2 separate regions of the Homo sapiens genome follow, and region 2 is linked to region 1. Evidence: promoter capture Hi-C in 16 types of primary human blood cells and fetal thymus (Javierre and others, 2016). All regions are on one chromosome and are shown on one strand. Each heading gives the region's core, a stretch centred on a gene start or on the middle of the fragment in contact. The rest is flanking DNA. Distances are from core to core; before and after follow the strand shown.

What was found. Contacts are between HindIII fragments. The CHiCAGO score rates a contact against its expected background, and 5 or more counts as called.
Region 2: a contact is called between a fragment that was not itself captured here and the fragment with the promoter of CCN2 in region 1, in 2 of 17 cell types (megakaryocytes and endothelial precursors). The highest score is 6.5, in megakaryocytes.

Annotation. Positions count from the first base shown.
Region 1 is chr6:131,948,778-131,953,268 of GRCh38, forward strand. It overlaps CCN2 (cellular communication network factor 2), which reads right to left and starts at 2,595. Exons shown (of 5, transcript NM_001901.4): 1 at 2,330-2,595; 2 at 1,993-2,215; 3 at 1,515-1,766; 4 at 1,172-1,383; 5 at 1-783. The coding sequence starts at 2,395. The coding sequence ends at 487. All of the region lies in intron 2 of CCN2-AS1 (CCN2 antisense RNA 1), which reads left to right. The HindIII fragment of the contact is 12,519 bases long and covers 1-4,491 here.
Region 2 is chr6:132,230,536-132,235,026 of GRCh38, forward strand. No RefSeq gene overlaps it. Among named protein-coding and RNA genes, the nearest start is that of LINC01013, 100 kb to the left of the region's middle. The HindIII fragment of the contact is 6,063 bases long and covers 1-4,491 here.

The DNA.
Region 1 (4,491 bases), core at 1,345-3,844:
GAATGTCAGAGCTGAGTCTGCTGTTCTGACTTAAGGAACAACTTGACTCAGTCTCTTGATGGCTGGAGAATGCACATCCTAGCTGTCACTGGGGCTACAGGCAGGTCAGTGAGCACGCTAAAATTTTCCTTCTCAATTACACTTCAAATAGCAGGCATATTACTCGTATAAGATGCTATCTGATGATACTAACCTTTCTGCTGGTACCCTCCCACTGCTCCTAAAGCCACACCTTAATATACATTCTGGTGCTGTGTACTAATGTAGTTCCACTGTCAAGTCTTAACATTCTTCAAACCAGTGTCTGGGGTTGATAGACTATTTGTTTGACATGGCACAATGTTTTGAATTGGGTGGGAATCTTTTCCCCCAGTTAGAAAAACAGATTTAAATAACTTGTGCTACTGAAATCATTTTTACGGAAAAATGAGATGTGAATCAGTTCAAGTTCCAGTCTAATGAGTTAATGTCTCTCACTCTCTGGCTTCATGCCATGTCTCCGTACATCTTCCTGTAGTACAGCGATTCAAAGATGTCATTGTCTCCGGGACAGTTGTAATGGCAGGCACAGGTCTTGATGAACATCATGTTCTTCTTCATGACCTCGCCGTCAGGGCACTTGAACTCCACCGGCAGGGTGGTGGTTCTGTGGGGGGTGCAGCATCGGCCGTCGGTACATACTCCACAGAATTTAGCTCGGTATGTCTTCATGCTGGTGCAGCCAGAAAGCTCAAACTTGATAGGCTTGGAGATTTTGGGAGTACGGATGCACTTTTTGCCCTTCTAAGGAAGACAAGGGAAAAGAGAGAGGAAAAAAAAAAATCAGCGACTCTACAAGAGGAGTGGCTTTCTTCAACCCTCTGTGTTTTAGTCTTCTGTTGTCTGACTTCTGTTTATATTTTGAGGGGAGGAAGTTTGAGTCTCATTTGCTATGTCCAAAAATAGCCAGAGCCTCTCTTGGAATGTCTTGAATTAACTAACCCTGTGGAAGATTTCGTAGTGGAAAACTGGTGGTTGCTATTACACAAGCTCTCATTCCAGCAAAACAGCTCAATGGTTAGATAGTTTTGGAGATAACGGGCTTATACTAACAAGCGTGGCAAGAGCCCTAAGTTGGGTCCTATCCACTGTTTTTCCTGTGAAAAATAGTTAATAGGAGCAGAACATGTACCTTAATGTTCTCTTCCAGGTCAGCTTCGCAAGGCCTGACCATGCACAGGCGGCTCTGCTTCTCTAGCCTGCAGGAGGCGTTGTCATTGGTAACCCGGGTGGAGATGCCCATCCCACAGGTCTTGGAACAGGCGCTCCACTCTGTGGTCTGGACCAGGCAGTTGGCTCTAATCATAGTTGGGTCTGGGCCAAACGTGTCTTCCAGTCGGTAAGCTGCGAGAGCAGAGCACACAAACACCATGTAAAACGCCTGGATAAGGTATTTCCCCCGTTCGGTCGGCACAGTTAGGACTCCCTCCCTGGGAGAGAATCACGACCCTGACTTAGAGGAAGACTCGACTCACCCGCGAGGGCAGGCCCAACCACGGTTTGGTCCTTGGGCTCGTCACACACCCACTCCTCGCAGCATTTCCCGGGCAGCTTGACCCTCCTCGGGAAGGGGCAGTCAGGGCTGGGCAGACGAACGTCCATGCTGCACAGGGGCATGCAGCCCACCGCCCCGTCCAGGCACGTGCACTGGTACTTGCAGCTGCTCTGGAAGGACTCTCCGCTGCGGTACACCGTACCACCGAAGATGCAGGGAGCACCATCTTTGGCTGGAGAAGAGGAAGGGAAGAGAGGGGTGGGGGATGCAGAGGTCAGGCATTGGGGCACTCTCACATCCAGAGCGTCAGGGATGCGAGTTGGGATCTGGGCTGCAGGGGGCGGGCTGGCAGCAGCTGGAGAAAGAAACTCAGTCCGAGCGGTTTCTTTTTCCAGCGGGCGGGTGGGCGTGAGGGAGGAGGCGGCCGGACACCTAGCGGTGGGGGCTGCGGGTCTTACCGGTGCACACGCCGATCTTGCGGTTGGCCGGGGAGCCGAAGTGACAGAATAGGCCCTTGTGCGGGTCGCATGGGTCGCGCTCGGTGCACAGCTCGCCCAGCTGCTTGGCGCAGACGCGGCAGCAGCCGCAGCCGTCCAGCACGAGGCTCACGCCCGCCGGGCAGCGCGGCGCCGGCTCGTCCGGGCACCGGCACGGCCCGCTGCAGTTCTGGCCGACGGCCGGCTGCAGGGAGGACAGGGCGGTCAGCGGCGCTCGGTCGGCGCGCACGCCCTCCCCGGCCGGCCCCGAGTCCCTCCCTGGCAGCCGCCGGCCGCAGCGGGGGCTCCCGGCGCTTACCCGGCTGCAGAGGGCGAGGAGGACCACGAAGGCGACGCGGACGGGGCCCATACTGGCGGCGGTCATGGTTGGCACTGCGGGCGGAGCGGAGGGCGCGGTGGCGGCGAGCGGGGAGCGGCGGGGCCTGGAGCGCTGGCGGTGGTCGGAGGTGGGGACCGGGACGCGCCGGGCTGTCGTCTCGGGGCTGTCGGCCGGGGCGGCTGCCGTCGAGCTGGAGGGTGGAGTCGCACTGGCTGTCTCCTCTCAGCGGGGAAGAGTTGTTGTGTGAGTTTGGGGCGGGCGGCCCGAGGCTTTTATACGCTCCGGGCGGCCGCGGCTCGCCAATGAGCTGAATGGAGTCCTACACAAACAGGGACATTCCTCGCATTCCTCCCCACCTTCCTGCCTCATCAACTCACACCGGATTGATCCTGACCCCTTGACACTCAGCATTCCTCCGTCTGAAAAAGCTGGCACACTCCAGCTCACAGAAAAAAAAAAAAAGGAAAAAAAAAAGCGCAGTATTTCCAGCACCAAATAGAATTTTTTTTTCCCTATCCTCTTCGCACCACTCCTGATTCATATCATTTATAAACACACTGGCAATTATTTCTTATTTCTTTTTCGAATAAGTTTGCCCTGTTCTGTCCACTGACATACATCCTTTTTAGGAAGTAGGTAGCTGAAGAGGCAAACAGCAGGAATTCCTAAAAAATTCGAAAAGGTTTCTCCCCCCCAACCCTTAGCAATGATTTGCGTTTTAGAGGCTATAGGCTCTTGAAACTCTCCAAAGAGTAGAAAAGGAGTGAGTTGCTTTTAACCATTTGAAATCCTCAAGATGCCTACCTGTAAAACCCTGAATTCTATATTTGAGATTTGATCATTTGTCACTTGAGGTAACGGTTTTGGGACAAGAAAGAGAACAAAGACGCGTGTGACTCAGGATGCAGTCTCCTGGGGCAGATTTCCAAAACTCTTGCTTAGTTTTCTCTTAATATATGTAGGAGTTTTATATAGGCAAGGACAAGGGAGGAGTGGCCATCAATGTTTCCAGAAAAAGGGATCCATTGTTCTATCAGAGCAAATGATTCTGTGTTGGGTAGGTAGGGGCTCTGGGTGTCAGGGTGGGAACACTGGGATGCAAAGGGGGTTCACCTAGGAGCATTTAAACACAGCTTCACTAGGGTCTTTGAGAAATGAGTGCATTTTCTTATATTAAAACCTATAATCTTCAAATGTGGATTGGATTTGGTTTGTCTTGTTAAAATAAGAAGTCTGATTCCATTACAAGAGCAGTGTACCCTGTTGTATCTGGATATAAACTAAGATTGACAGTGAATAATATATTTTTAGTGACTCCCCACACATCTATGAATAGTGATTGTGACTTCTCATTACCCAAGGAACATGCAGCCTGAGGGAGTGAGGTCAGGACAAGGAAAGAATAGGCTTTATTCTCCCTGGGTGTGTGCAGATGTTGAATATGGCCAATAAACCTAAGCATATCTCCATTTCTTAATATAGTGCTACTTAGCTTCACTAAAGACCCAACTAATTCACTGTGCTTTCATTTGGAATCTATGTTGTTTAGTGGCTTTTTTGTTAATACCTCCAGTTCCCATTTTATATAAAGAGAGTGATTCTAGGGCCATACCATTTTTGTATTCTGTAATGCCGCATCATTTGACATTGGTGTTACCAATGAGTAGATTCCTTTAAGTTGTTGATGCTTCAGAGCATGGGTTCAAGATAAGCATATCTGTTTGTGGTGCAAAGATCGGCTTTAGAAACAATGCATTATAGATTTATCATTTGAAAACAGCCTGTTTAAACTGATCAAATTTTTAAAGTTTCAGTACAGTCTGTTGAAAAATAGCCAAGAAGAAATATAACCACTCCAACTTCAGCATAGAGCATATCATCTGTGCACGATTACCTCGTTAAGCCAGCCACATGTTATAGAGTGTAGTTGCATGTCAATAGTGTGAATGGCCAGCAAAGGGGTGGGGGTGCCCTCTGAAGCTCAGGAAGAATTTTCGTCATTGTTATTTAATGTCCTTTCCAAGCATTCCTCAAAAAGAAGAGGCCTAAGAGTTCCTATTTAAAGAAGGAACATTCCAAGTTAACTTAATAGCCACATGTGTATTAAAGGCAACTTGGCCCTCAACTTTTTCTTCCCTTGT
Region 2 (4,491 bases), core at 619-3,118, 280 kb after region 1:
ATTGGCAGAATTTTACACCTTATCAGTTGCATTAGTCAACCTAGCTTGTGTAGATCTAGTGTTTTGCATGTCTTTTCTGTGGTTGGCATATGATTCTCTCAACAGCTGTTTACCATAGCTATGGGTCACTGATATGTCCCATGTGACATTTATAAATGTCTTGTGTTGTTCACAAGACATTTATAAAATTCAGCTGTGGTTCATGTATCACTGATGTGGTCTACACATGTCTTAAAGAATTTTTTTCTTTTCTGTTTTTTTCAAGGAGGGACTCATTTGGAATTCCTTACTCTACAAAGTTTGGGGTTTTCTGAAGGTTTGCAACATTGAAGAGAACAACCCTGTCATGCTAGCAGAGGAGAAACTACAGTCTTTGATGGCAGGTTGACAAGGGTACTCTGTCCCTGGAGTCATTTTATTATCTGACTTCTGTATTCTGCCAAAGACACTGAGACCACCTACCTGCACATTGGAAAATACAGCTGAGATCTGTCTTTGTGACCCAGACAGATGCCCTCTCAACTTCTCTCTGTTCTGAAGGAAAACATTGCAGCCCAGGCCAGATGAAAACAAGCACTTTCCCCCCCACTTTTTCTGTGGGAAAGATGAGTTGAAACCAAAGTTAATATATTTGAAAAATCTGGGGGAAAAACAGAACAGATTTTTAAAAAGCTGTTTCTTTACCCATCGGTATGCTATTTGCAGAAGTCTTACAAAGGAAACTTCTGTTGGAGTGGAAAACACTGAGAGAAACCCATGTTATGTGAGACTTTAATTCCCTGGAGCTGGGAAAATGAAAGAATCAGGTCCCTATATTCTTGGACTGTTGTCATTAGTTACCAAGAATGTTTATTCAATTGGTTTTAACCATTTCATTAGGAATTCCTTTCATCTGCTGGATATAGTTAACGCAAGACAGGTGAAGCTAATTTTATAAAGCAGTATTGTTACATTATATGCAACAGATTTCTGAGCACAGAAAGGAAGAAGAATCGATTTTTATCTGCTCATTTTTTAAAAGATATTTTTCACCAACCGTATATCTGTACTATCATTACAACAATGCAGTCTGGCTACAATCTCAGGGAATCAATGTGATTTATGTCATAATGCTTTCTTCTTGGAAGGGTACATTTGGCACAAGATAACTGATTTTAAGCAATAAACTTACAGACTCTGGGCCAATCTTGTTAAACCATTGGCTAGTGCAAAGCTAAATCACTTAATATAATTCCCACCTAGAGGCTCATCCATTTTTTAAAATCACTAAACTACTGGCAAATTCATGTTAACAAGATCAGAATAAAAGCTGCTAGGATATTCAGTATTTTGCATGATGGACCTCTCCTTTCCACCAAGAGCACAGGTTAGTTTCTATCAGATTAAACAAAATGATTTAAAAGAGTAAACTTTTAATCAGTGTTTTTCTAGCTTGTAGCATATGACTCATATTAAGAAACATATTTTATATCAGATTCCACATATATAATCTGAAACAAATTTTTCAGGGAATAATACACATGCTTATAATTACGTGGTGCTCTTGAATATGTTCTAGTCTATTCTACTGTATTAATGTAAATTATTTCATAATTATTACTACCTAGCTTTGTATCATGAATAGTTTGAAATACATGGCTTTAGATAACATTCACTCTGGAGCTGAAAGCCTGGCACAAAATAAAATTGTGCCTAAATTGATTAGTAATATGCCAATTATTAGTGAGTACAAAGCCAAGCACTTTTAAAATTTATTCATTAGCCGACAAATCTCCATAAAAACCATGCAAGTATTTTATAAATGAAGGGCATAGAAGAGCAAATTTCATGGCAAAGTTTTCATAAATAGTTGCAGAACTTTGATAGGCATCCAGAACTACTCATGCCTGAACCATGAAATTAACATCTAAGCAGAAGCCTGGGTCTTGGGTCATCTTCTAGACCTGGGAATATTTAATTGACCTTAGACTCTCCAGATTACAGGGGATATTTAGAAAGTCTTACTTGGTTCTGAGAAAATTTCCATATCTCTAGAATATTTGTGGCCTCCTCAATCCTCCTTCAAATTGCTTATGTCCTTCATTGGGCAAAGAGTTAGACCCGCGGTCCACCTGGTGGGATCTGCACATCAAGGGAGGGCATGGGAGAGTTCTTTCCCTGAGATTGGCCTTTGCATAAAAGTTAGCTCATTTTAAGGTCTAGGGGACTATGTCTACCAGTAGTAGTAGTAGTAGACATAGTAACTTATTCTAGAACTATTAGAAGGGAAAATCTGACTGTAATAGGGACCTATGACTAAACCTGGGGTCAAGGAGGTGTGTGGTATCACAGCTTGGATTCTTTTTTTTTTTTTCAGCAGGTGGAGCGATCCTAGCACCAAATTAACCCCAGATACATAAAGAGAGATTCACAGACGCAGTTATCCTATGTAAAGGGGCTCAAGTTTGTTTGACCACTGGCCTCTGCAATGGATTTGGAACTGTTAATAGCCAATTCTTCAACAATAGTCTTTTTACTCCTATTAACAGATGGGGCAGCAATAAGTAACTCAAATTTGTTGAGGAGCAACTTTATTTTGATGTCCCAGAGTTCAGTGAAGCAAGACAGTATTCTCATAGACTGCCTGACTAATGTGTTCTGAACACGACAAACTAATTTATGAGCAAGAAATTCATTGGTTCACATAGTGGTCAAAATGATTAGGTAATTTAACAGAAATAACTAATAAATTGCTTGATTATTTAACATAATTCTGAGTTGTCAACCAAAACAGCAAAGCCTTTTTTTTTTTTTTAGGGGCTGAATCTTGCCTTGTCATCCAGGCTGGAGTGCAGTGGCATGGTCACTCAAGTGATCCTCCCACCTCAGCCTCCTGAGTAGGTATGACTGCAGGTGCACACAAGACCACATCCAATTAATATTTAAATTTTTCATAGAGATGGAGTCTCACTATGTTGCCCAGGCTGGTCCCAAACTTCTGACTTAAAGCAATCCTCCCACATCTGTCTCCCGAAGCACTAAAAACAGCAAATCTAAATAAAGACCGTAAACACTGATGAAAGGACAAATAAGAGCACAGTGCAGGCCTAGCTGTGGAGCCAAAAAATGAGATGCGGAGCTCTGATAGGCAGGCAGTTACTACAGTTTCTTTCATTCGTTTCTTATTTTGGGCTGGGAAAAAAACAAAATAATAAAACTTTGATCTTAAGATTTTTTTCAAAATCATGTTCTTTGGAATGCCTAAAAAGAATTTAAAATAATTTAATATCATGACTGTCCTATGTTTATCTTTGGAAAAAAAAAAAGTATTCAAACTGCTAAATTTCAGGACCATGGTTTTGTGATAGAACTACGCTCACACATGGTCTGTGCTCTCGCCTTCCTAGAATGCAAACTCTATGAGGAAAGGATTTTTGTCTGTCTTTTCTTGATGCCATCTTCAACAACAGGACATTTTCCTAGGAGGATTTTTACCAGCTACTTGTAAATTCCAAATGGCTACATTTTAGTAAAATTTTTAAATTATTGAAAAGTTTTACAAGTCTGTTAAAAGTTTTTAAATCATACCTTTTAAAAAACACATAATTATCTTAGGTGATATTTATTTTCTTTGTTTGCTTAACAAATACCTGAGTTAATATCTACAAATGAGCTGAATACATACACTGCACTATACTCTTTCAAATATTTAAAGAAGTTAAGATCATCAAACCATGTACTTAAAGATGCTTAAATATTCTTTGCAACTTTAGAAACCAGGGGTCTGTTTCTTGAGGAAGTCTTATAATGAATTTGTATTTTTGAGGTAGTTAGCATAAGTTATTATTGAACAGTAATTCTTGCAGTGGTTGTAAATCATTTTTAAAATGGCTAGTGATGAATTAATATAAGGTACCTGATCCAAGTGACTAAACTATTCCCTGAAGGAAAAATGCTCATCTCTGAGAGATATTTTCCTAAATTGGAACTTGGTAACAGTGCTGGTCTTATACACAGGATTTTTAATTACTCGAGTCATCGATCAAGTAGAAACAAGTCTGTGTATTTATTGTGGAGATGGAATATTTTTGACCTACCCAGGAAAACCACATCCTATATCAAAATTATTCTTAGAGATGTAAACTGATCATGTCATTTGTTTGCATTTAAAGTTGTAAAGCAGATTCCTAGAAAAATCAAAACAAAAGCCTGTTTATACTAACCACATAATTACAATAAAAGATTCTTATGAAGGCCTAGAAAACAATTTCTCTTCTAATTGATACACATCTGCATATCCTACATACACTTGATCTGAAGGTCATATAGATCTTAATAGATGCACCCAGACTTTTAGATTCTGTTCATCTCATTTGCAAAATAAGTTAGAGATTTCTTCTGACCCCTGAAACCATTGCTATGAAAACAATGTTATGAAAACATTTGCTTTAATAGCAAATTCTGTAACAAAAATGTCTTTAAGGTGTGTTTAAGTCAACACTGACTTACGTT